4 separate regions of the Homo sapiens genome follow, and regions 1, 3 and 4 are each linked to region 2. Evidence: promoter capture Hi-C in 16 types of primary human blood cells and fetal thymus (Javierre and others, 2016). All regions are on one chromosome and are shown on one strand. Each heading gives the region's core, a stretch centred on a gene start or on the middle of the fragment in contact. The rest is flanking DNA. Distances are from core to core; before and after follow the strand shown. Region 1 overlaps TTC17 (tetratricopeptide repeat domain 17). Region 2 holds the start of API5 (apoptosis inhibitor 5). Region 3 overlaps TTC17 (tetratricopeptide repeat domain 17). Region 4 overlaps TTC17 (tetratricopeptide repeat domain 17).

Region 1 (2,700 bases), core at 154-2,653, 150 kb after region 2:
CTGCAGACATGTGGGGACTCCACCAAAGATGGCTTTACTCAAATGTCTGGGGCCTCAACTGGGGTGGCTGCATTAGCTCTGGCACAGCTGCAGTTCCCTCTCCAGCAGGGTCCTGGGCCATTTCACATGATGACTGAGGGCTCCAAGAGGGTGAAAGCAGAAGCATCTGGGCTAGGCCTCTTAGAGCCTGTGCATAAAACTGAAACAGCACTACTTCATCCATGCTGCCTTTCAAAGCAAGTCCCGGGGCCTGCTCAAAATTACAGGCAGGGAAAATATCCTCTACCTGATGGTAGTGACAAAGAATATGTGTCCCATCGTTAATTCACCAGTTGCCTTCACAGTTGCAACAATGAGACTGTTAGCTTTTAAACAGAAATGATAAAAACTAGAAGCCGGCCGGGCGCGGTGGCTCACGCCTGTAATCCCAGCACTTTGGGAGGCCGAGGCGGGTGGATCAGGAGGTCAGGAGATTGAGACCGTCCTGGCTAACAAGGTGAAACCCCGCCTCTACTAAAAATACAAAAAATTAGCCGGGCGCAGTGGCGGGCGCCTGTAGTCCCGGCTACTCGGGAGGCTGAGGCAGGAGAATGGCGTGAACCCGGGAAGCGGAGCTTGCAGTGAGCCGAGATTGCGCCACTGCAGTCCGCAGTCCGGCCTGGGCGACAGAGCGAAACTCCGTCTCAAAAAAAAAAAAAAAAAAAAAAAAAACTAGAAGCCATTGTAACAACATGTTTAAAGTGCTAGAATAAGAAAACTGCAGGCTTAGAATTCTAAACCAGCCAAAATGTTCTTAAAAGATTAAGGCAAAACAAATATGTGTTCAAACAAACAAAAACAGAGACAATTTGGCACCAGTAGGCCTGCACTGAAAAAGTAAAGGAAGTTTATCAGGAAAATAATCCAAGATAGAAATATGGACTTGGAAGAAAGAATGAAGAACACTGGGAAACATATGTAAATGAATAGTAACTGTACAAAATAATAATGGTACACCCTGAGGAGTTTCAATTTTATGTACTGTATATCTAAAATTCATGGTAGCAATAACTTAAATGATGAGAGGGAAGCAAATAGAGTTTAAAAGTCCTAAGGCTTAATTGGTATCAGCCAAGTAGTAAAAGTAATAATTTGCATTGGCCTTAATAAGTAAAAAAGCATGTTTTAAACTCTAGGCTAACAACTAAAAATTATTTTTAAATGTAACTTAATAGAAGGAAAATGGAATCATGTAGAACATTTGATTAATCCAAAGGAAGTCAAGGGAAGATAAAGGTACATAAAAGTAGAGCACAAATAGTACAATGGCGAATATAGACCCAAGCACATCAGTAGTTACATGGAGGAAGACTGTGTAACTTAAGAATTAAATGTAGGCTAGATTAAAAAAAAAAAAAAAACGGCTATATAACTATACCCTTGTCAGAAAAAGTAAACTTTATAATAAGAAGCATTACTGGAGTTAAAGTGGAATATTTTATAACACTAAAGGGATCTGTGGCAGGCTGAATAGTGCCCCCCTACAAAGATATCCACGTTCTAATCCCTGGAACCTGTGAAAACTATATACATACACAGTATGGAAAGAAGAGGACTTTGCAGATAAAATTGAGGATCTGGAGATGGAGCGATTATCCTGGATTATCCAGTTGGGTCCTAAAGCCAATCACATGTATTCTTATAAAGAAGGAGACAGAGACTTAATCCTGAAGAGTAGAAGGCTGTGTGACAATAGAGGCAGAGTTATGCAGCCACAAGCCAAGGAATGCCAGCAGCCACGAGAAACCAGAAGAGGGAAGTAACAGATTCTCTAGATCCTCTGAAGGGAGCACAGCCCTGCTGACACATTGACTTTGACCCAATGATATTGATTTTGGACCTCCTGCCTTAAGAGCTGTGAAGGAATAGATTTTTATTGTTTTAAACCACCAAGTATGTGTTAATTTGTCACAGTAGCTATAGGAAAGTAATATAGATTTAATTCACAAGGTAGGTATGTTCTGTAAACTGTATGCACCAAAGAACATAATCTAAAATATATAAGGTAAACATTGACATAACTGGCAGAAGAAATAGACATATTCCCAATCAAAGTAGATTTGAATAAAATTATAATAACTGATAGCAGTTATTATTGTAGCAGACCAAAAACACCACAATTACAAACTGAACCTAGCTGCCATATGTAAGCACTGAATCCAGCAGTGACAAAATTCTTTTTTTTTTTTGAGACAGAGTCTCACTCTATTGCCCAGGCTGAAGTGCAGTGGTGCTATCTTGGCTCACTGCAACCTCTGCCTCCCAGGTTCAAGTGATTCTCCTGCCTCAGCCTCCCAAGTAGCTGGGACTACAGGCGTGCGCCACCACACCCAGGAATTTTTGTATGTTTTAATAGAGACGGGGTTTCACCATATTGGCCAGGCTGGTCTCAAACTCCTGACCTCATGATCCACCCGCCTCAGCCTCACAAATTGCTGGGATTACAGCTGTAAGCCACCGTGCCCGGCCCAAAATTCATTCTTTTACATGCACAAGGAAGGAACATTTATCATATGTGAACACTTAACATATGACTGAGCCATAAAAAAGGCCTTAACAAATTTCCAAAGATTTAAATTTCTTAGCATGGAAATGGATATTGACCAATACAGATTAAGCCAGAAATCATACAAAATAAAAATAGCTTACAAAATAAAAATA
Region 2 (2,700 bases), core at 121-2,620:
GATCTTGAACTCCTGACCTCAAGTGATCCACCCAACTCAGCCTTCCAAAGTGCTGAGATTACAGGCGTTAGCCACCGCACACGGCTATATATATATATAATATTATTATATAAATATAATTATCTTAATATATAAATATATATTATTATCTTAATATATATAATATATATTATTATCTTAATATATATAATATATTATTATCTTAATATATATTATTATCTTAATATATAATTATATAATAATATACAATATATAATATATATTATATATATAATTGTATATATAATATAATATATAATATATATTATAATATTAATATCATAATATTATATATGATATATAAATATAATAATATATTAATATATATTAAGATAATAATATTAATATATTAATTATATAATTAATATATTATATATAATATAAGATAATTATAATATATAATTGATAATATTGATATATTAATTAATATTATATCTCAATATATAGATATATTATAATTATATTATATAATTAATGTATTAATTAATATTATTATCTTAATATATATTAATATAATATTATTATATTTATATTATATATTATATATTTATATATTAATATAATATTATTATATTTATATTATATATTATATATTTATATATTAATATATAATGTTATATATTATATAATATATAATATTATATATTAATATATAATATTATATATTATATAATATATAAAATTATTATATATTAATATATAATGTTATATATTATATAATATATAAAATATTATATATTATATCATATTATATATATAATTTCATTTAAACTTGTATCTTAGAAATTCTTATCAGTAAGCGTACGTGATTTCATTTATTTATTATTCTTTTGGATACTGGACATAATCAGGTGGCCCCAATTCTTTACACTGGCAGCAAAGATAAGCAAATTCTTCCAGCAGGCCAAATTTGACCCCGCACTTGATGAGCGTGGTGGACACAGAGGGTTTTTTAATAGCATAGGAATGTTTTTTGCTTCCCACCGGACCCACTAGCCTCTAGTGCCACCGATTAATATTACCTTCCTTGAATCAGGAGGAAACCATTTGTGACTTCTCATATGTAAGATCTTCTAAGGGCAGAAACGCAATTGTCTTTGTATTCACTTCCCCGCCCACCCACACCCCTTCCATGGAGAGCCTGCAGCCAAGCTCAAGCTTTCAAAAAGGCGTGAGCTAATTCAATCATCCTTGCCGCTTTTTTGCTCCTCCAGGCTGTAGAGGGCGACAAAAACCGCGGAGGCGCATTGGGGTGGGGGGTGTCTACTGAAGGCCGCTCCCGACGTGCGCGTCTTTACGTAGACGTCGGGGGCGCAGCCGCGCTGTGCGCGGTGACTGGCGGCTGCACTGGCGGCAGCTGGAGGTGTAATAGTGCGGGTAGTGGGTTTGGAGAAGTTCCGAGGCGGCGGTGGCGCCGGTCAGGACAAGGATAGCGGAACCGGGCCCTGGGCTTGTCGCTCACCATGCCGACAGTAGAGGAGCTTTACCGCAATTATGGCATCCTGGCCGATGCCACGGAGCAAGTGGGCCAGGTGAGTTGAGTCCCCGGGCGGCCTGCAGGGCCTGGCGCTCCGCGGCCTTTCGAAAGCGCTTCCCGCCGCACTCCCCGGGCCGAGCGGGGGCTGCGGCTTCATCCTCCCGGGGCCTCCTAGCCTCCTCAGGCCGTCTCGTCGGGGTGGGCCTCTCTGGGAGTGTAGACTCTGGTTTCACCAGGGAGACCGCGGTCCCCAGGGTTCCAGGCTTCCTTGCCTCCCTTGCCCAGCCTTTTCTCACCGTGGCGTAACCTAACTCAGCCCGTTCAGGCTCACGTTAATTCTTCTCACGGAGCTTTTCTCTACAGGATTCTCTTAAGCCTTTCTCCTTTTCGGTGGAGCTCAGTGCTTCCAAGATTAGATCGGGAGTTTTCTTCATGAGGTCAAGATGTGTTTTTTTTGGGGGGGAGGCAAAATTCTGCTACTAATTGAAGAAGAGTGTTTAGGAGACAGAAGTTTGTGAGAAACAGAAGAGGGACTCTTTGGTCCAGACTTTGATGAGAGCTCACGGTTTCATTTATTCAGTGCATTTTTTTGAGTGCCGAGCGCTGGAGATACAGATGGAAAGGTCCGCGCTCTCCCAGAATGTACAGTTAGGAGGGAGTGTAGTAAGAAAGATAGGCATTGTGAGGCCCGGCTTGGTGGCTCACGCCTGTAATCCGAGCACTTTGGGAGGCCGAGGCGGGCGGATCACGAGGTCAGGAGTTCGAGACCAGCCTGACCCACATGGTGAAACCCTGTCTCTACTAAAAATACAAAAATTAGCCGGGCGTGGTGACACGCGCTTGTAATCCTAGCTACTCAGGAGGCTGAGGTGGGAGGATTGCTTGAACCCGGGAGGCAGAGGTTGCGGTGAGCCGAGATCGCTTCACTGCACTCCAGCCTGGGAGACAAAGCAAGACCCCGTCTCAAAAAAAAAAAAAAAGGTTTTTTTTAAAAATTTATTCTTTTTAATGAAACATGTTTGAAGAAAATAAAACAGGGCTGGGCGAAGGAGAGTGTGAGTGCGCAGCTCTGAATGGAGTTGTCTGGAAGAGCTCTCTTAACGATGCTTGCCCCCGATACACAGTTTCTCAGCAGTGTTGAATTATCCATACAAGTCATTTGTTCCCTGTATGAGTTTTCAAGT
Region 3 (2,700 bases), core at 180-2,679, 170 kb after region 2:
AGGCAAAAGATACTTCTTACATGGTGGTGGCAAGAGAAAAATGAGGAAGAAGCAAAAGCAGAAACCCCTGATAAACCCATCAGATCTCATGAGACTTATTCACTATCACGAGAATAGCATGGGAAAGACCGGCCCCCATGATTCAATTACTTCCTCCTGGGTCCTTCCCACAACACGTGGGAATTCTGGGAAATACAATTCGAGATGTGGGTGGGGACACAGCCAAACCATATCACATGGGAATAGTTTTTTTTCAATGTAGATATAATTAAAAGTAAAAAGCATGTGTCCTTCCTTTTCTAAATTAATTTTTTTTGGGGGATAAGCAATTGATGAGGGAAAGTCTCTCTAGGAATATTACGATTAATAAACTGAAAGTGATAATAACATCAGTATATTACAGTTTTGTAGCCCTTAATGAATATCAGCAGTGATCATCACTTGCTGCTAACATCTGAGACACCCAGACAGTATGTGTGTATCATTAGAAGTACACACCTATAAAGTAGTTTTGTCCCACTCTTCCCCCAAAAGTTAAATCTAAACCAGTCACTTCTGTAATTACAATTTGTGAGAAATAACAGGGAACAAAGGAGCATGTTAAATGGTACCATGAGGATGCAATATCAGAGTCTAATGCTGGAAACCAACAGGACAGATAACCCTATTTCTTCTACAAAAATAAATTTGTAAAGAAAAAACTAATGAAGATGGACCCCAGAGATCACAACAGATTTAAGGAGAAAGCAGCCAATTAAAATGTATGGCGCTCATTTAGATTGTGATTCAAACTGTAAAAGCAAAATGAAACTTCTGTAAGACACTTGGGGTACATAGGAACAACCAACTGAATACTTGATGATATTAAAGAATCATTTTCACTTCTTTAGGCATAATGTACATAAGCTTATGTTCTAAACATGAGTTTTTATCTTTTAGAGGCACACACTAAAGAATTTACCCATGAAATTGTATGAAATCTGGAATTTGCTTCACATTAACATGGATGAGGGTATAGATGAAACAACATGGCCATGAGTTGATAAGTGTTGAAGCTGAATGATGAGCACATGAGGGTTCATTATATTGTTTTATTTATTTATTTATGTAATTTAAAGTGACAGGGTCTCCATCTGTCACCCAGGCGAGAGTGCAGTGACACAGTCTTAGCTCGCTGCAGCCTCAAACTCCTGTGCTCAAGTGATTCTCCTGCCTCATCCTCCCTGCCCCATCCCGCAACCCCCAAAGTAGTTAGGACGACAGGCACGGACCATGCCAAGCTAATTTTTAAATTTTTTTCATAAAAATGTAGTCTCGCTATGTTGCCCAGACTGGTCTCAAACTCCTGGCCTCAAGCAATCCTCCCACCTTGGCTTCCCAAATTACTGAGATAACAAGGTGTGAGCCACCGCACCCAGCCAGGAGTGCAGCTTTTAAAAGAGTAGTTCCAGGCCGGGCGTGGTGGCTCACGCCTGTATTCCCAGTGCTTTGGGAGGCTGAAGCAGGTGGATCACCAAGTCAGGAGTTCGAGACTAGCCTGGTCAACATGGTGAAACCCTGTCTCTACTAAGAATACAAAAAATTAGCAAGGTGTGATGGCTCACACCTGTAATCCCAGCTACTCTGGAGGCTGAGGCAGGAGAATAGCTTGAACCCGGGAGGCAGAGGTTGCAGTGAGCCAAGATCACGCCACTGCACTCCAGCCTGGGTGACAGAGCGAGACTCCATCTCAAAAAAAGAAAAAAAAAAGTTCCTTTATTTTTGTATATACTTGAAATTTTTCATTATAAAACATTTAAATGATGTGATTACAAAGATGAGAAACAAATAGCATCAGAAATGAGTAGGTAAATTTAAAAAGCAAATTAGCCATCTTAAACTAAAATAAATTGTGTAAGTCAGATATTCAGTTGATGGGTTACATGAATTAGACATAATTAAATAGTGAATTGCAAGCTTTGTAAAAAATTTACCTGAAATATTATAGAGACAAGGAGACAAATGAATCAACAGACTTAGGAAGTACCATGTATTCCAAGCTGGAAAAGTAAAAAGAAATCCATACCTACATACATTATAGTAGAACTACAAAATAGCAAAGGCAAAGGTATCTTAAAGCATCCATTTCAGTCAGGGTACTGTCAGGAAAACAGAAATAACACTAGGTATTTCAGAAAAGCAAATTTGATTTAGAGAATTGATGACGTTGTAGAGGGCTGAAAGAGAAAAAGGAAACAAGGAAGTAAACTAAAGATAACTGTAGGGAACAGCTCCCACCTCTAGGTGTGGAAAAGGGCAGCAAGTGATTAGGGTTTTCAGAATTTAGAAGTTTACAGGAGAAACTGAGGAGCTGGAGCTCTTGCTTCCACAGAGAGGGACAGCCTTGTGGCAGAAGGGTGCAGTGAGCCTGGGTCTGGGAGTGCTTAAAGAACCTGGAGACTAGAGTGCTGTTGCTGGAATAACACTGACAGGAGCAGCATGCAAATAGGAAGAAAGAAGTCCCTTCTCCCTCTTGCCTTCCAATCTTCTAGTGCACATGTTTGCTGAACCTAACAAGAAGCCTGTTAACAAAGGAGAAATGTGGTTTGCAGAGTGCCAGCAGTTATCGCAAAGCAGATTTGGACCTGAAAGACAATAGCTCAATAAGTATCACAGTAGCCATGTATTCATTCACTCATTCATTTATTCATTCATTCAGCA
Region 4 (2,700 bases), core at 100-2,599, 130 kb after region 2:
CACCTACCTTTTCCTCAGTATCTTATTTGTTACTATCCCCTGTATACATTCTTTATTCTAATTAATTTGAAATTGGTAATGCCCTCACATGTGCCTTTACTATCCCTGTATGTATGTGTGTAGACAAATGAGTCTATGCATACATGCTTTAAAAAAAAAAAATTGTTAACTCTGGAAGGCTGGATGCAGTAGCTCACACCTGAATCCAAGCACTTAGAGAGCCTGAGGTGGGCGGATCACCTGAGACCAGGAGTTCAAGACCAGCCTGGCCAACATAGCAAAACCCCATCTCTACAAAAATACAAAAAAAGTAGCCAGGTGTGGTGGCCTGCGCCTATAATCCCAGCTACCTGGGAGGCTGAGGCAGGAGAATCACTTGATCCCAGGAGGCAGAGGTTTAAGTGAGCTGAGATCACACCACTGCATTGCGCTCCAGCCTGGGCAACAGAACAAGACTCTATCTCAAAAAAAAAAAAAAAGTCCCTATGGGGAGTGACCTCCCTGACCCTCTACTCTTATCTGTTTAAATCCTGTCTCAGGTAGTCCGCCTTTCTCTAAGAAGCATTTTGTGATTACATGCAAATATTTTTTCCCTCTAAAAAAAAATTAATTTTTCTCTTATTATTTCATGTATGTAGTTGTCTGTCTCCAACTTGATTATAAATTCATTATATTTCATTTCTTAAGGTTAGAAACTTTCCATTTTTTTTTGTTCCCACCTACAGCTTACAGAGATAGACATATAGTAGGCTGTCAATAAAGTTTGGTTTATTTTTTGCTAACTCAGAGCACACTTATAATCTACTTATTCTTCACCTGTGAGGAGAAAATATAAAAATATGTACATATTTAGTGTTGTTTTTTTAGGAATTGCTTTCGCCCCAACCCCAGCAGCCTTTAGAAAAGCTTAATGGCTACCAGCAACAGAAGCCTTCAGCAAGCTCCATATTCTCTCTTCATTTGAATATCAGTTTCCATTAATGAAAGCCCCTCTCTCTCAGAATTTTTAAATAACGATAAATATTACCATATGGTAGGAGCACAAGGAAGCAATCACCTTGGGTTACTGGGTTTGCAGAACTCTTCGTAGCTAAACAGCATGAATTTTTTCCAATGTGTTGCTTAACGACAGGGATATGTTCTAGGAAATGCGTCCTTGGGTGATTTTGCCGTCGTGGGAACATCATAGAGTGTACTGTACTTACTTACACAAAGCTAGGTGGTATAGCCTACTGCACTCCCGCGTTATATTGTGTAGCTTCTTGCTCCTAGGCTACAAACCTCTACAGCATGTTTATGTACTGCAATACCGTAGGCAAGCGTAACACAATGGTAAATATTTGTGTCTCTAAACATATTTAAATGCAGAAAAGGTACAGGGGAAATACAGTATTATAATTTTATGGCACCACCATGGTATATGCAGTTCATCATTGACCAGAACTTCATTATGTGGTGCATGGCTATAATACCATGTTCTAAATCCCTGAACAAGCCAGAATTACCAACTGAAGATTATTGCACTAGAATAATGAAACTGGCATTTTGTGAGGTATCAACCCAGAGCTCTCAGGTTTTCCTGTGGGTACATGTTACAAAAGGAGACATTTTGTTATTTGTTCTTGTACCCTATCTACTTCCTAAAGGGACTAGGGATGACTTTCATGGAATGCACAGTGTAACATCCAGCCAATTCAAAATAAACAGGAAAAGTTAAGTAGTGAAGAATTTTTTAAAAGAAAGCCTTCTATTAAGAAACTCGGGCTAATTTTGCCTGAGCTTCCTTGTTATTCAAGCTTAGAGGAGAACTCAAGAGGGCTGTGTAACCTTCATTGGATAATAAAGGAAACATACTGAGTTCTCAGGAGAGAGAATTTTTGCTAGGCCATTACACTGAGAGTCTTCCATAGGAGTCTTTATGTAAGAGACTTGAGCCACCTAAATAATATCTTGGTAATCATTTTAGAAAGAAATTATTGTAGTATATTGCTATTTCTTATATCAGCCATTTAGTGAAAAATGGGAGCCTTCATGTAGAATTAGGATAGTTTTCCATTAAACAAATCATTTTTCAATTAAGGCAATTAAGCCAGCTATATGGTCTGGACACACAGCTATGTCCAGATACTTGAATAAACCTTGAAGAATCCCATATATTAAATAACATAATAAGCTTCATCCTTGCCATCTATGTTTTGAATGTAGAGCAAGTGGATCTTTTTTAAAAAATAGTGTATCACATACCTGTCCCCATGCTCGCTAATAACAGAATCTCTGACTGCCTGCTCTCTAGCTGCCACTGTTCTCAGCCAGGCTTTTGGCAAACGCTAGATGACAAAGTTGGTATTTTATTATGTATTTTGAAGATGCTGAATGGAATTTTTATTACATTGGGCTATAGTAGTGCCTCTAAGCAGAGCCAAAACGTTTCTCCAAAAGCAGGGTTGGAGTCACCCAAGGTCTTGAATGAGTACTGTGTACCTTTTACTAACGTGCTGGCCCTTGAATTTCAGGTACGGTGGTTGAGGAGAGCAATGGTTCTGATGAGATGGAGAATTCAGATGAAACCAAAATGTCAGAAGAAATACTGGCTTTGGTGGATGAATTTCAACAGGCATGGCCTTTGGAAGGCTTTGGGGGTGCACTAGAGATGAAAGGGCGGCGTCTAGACTTACAAGGAATACGGGTGCTGAAGAAAGG

Evidence for each region. The method cuts DNA at HindIII sites, captures the fragments that hold promoters and counts their contacts. A CHiCAGO score of 5 or more calls a contact.
Region 1: a fragment that was not itself captured here is called in contact with the fragment with the promoter of API5 in region 2 in 1 of 17 cell types (M2 macrophages); the score reaches 5.8 in M2 macrophages.
Region 3: a contact is called between a fragment that was not itself captured here and the fragment with the promoter of API5 in region 2, in 1 of 17 cell types (M2 macrophages). The highest score is 6.7, in M2 macrophages.
Region 4: a fragment that was not itself captured here is called in contact with the fragment with the promoter of API5 in region 2 in 1 of 17 cell types (M2 macrophages); the score reaches 13.6 in M2 macrophages.

Annotation. Positions count from the first base shown.
Region 1 is chr11:43,460,706-43,463,405 of GRCh38, forward strand. All of the region lies in intron 21 of TTC17 (tetratricopeptide repeat domain 17), which reads left to right. Among named protein-coding and RNA genes, the nearest start is that of MIR670, 98 kb to the right of the region's middle. The HindIII fragment of the contact is 5,243 bases long and covers 1-2,700 here.
Region 2 is chr11:43,310,626-43,313,325 of GRCh38, forward strand. API5 (apoptosis inhibitor 5) reads left to right here and starts at 1,371. Exons shown (of 14, transcript NM_001142930.2): 1 at 1,371-1,571. The coding sequence starts at 1,503. RefSeq lists an enhancer at 1,124-1,899. The HindIII fragment of the contact is 11,672 bases long and covers 1,196-2,700 here.
Region 3 is chr11:43,477,509-43,480,208 of GRCh38, forward strand. The region is part of intron 21 of TTC17 (tetratricopeptide repeat domain 17); the gene reads left to right. Among named protein-coding and RNA genes, the nearest start is that of MIR670, 81 kb to the right of the region's middle. The HindIII fragment of the contact is 1,050 bases long and covers 905-1,954 here.
Region 4 is chr11:43,440,812-43,443,511 of GRCh38, forward strand. TTC17 (tetratricopeptide repeat domain 17) reads left to right here. Exons shown (of 24, transcript NM_018259.6): 17 at 2,514-2,700. Among named protein-coding and RNA genes, the nearest start is that of TTC17, 83 kb to the left of the region's middle. The HindIII fragment of the contact is 890 bases long and covers 905-1,794 here.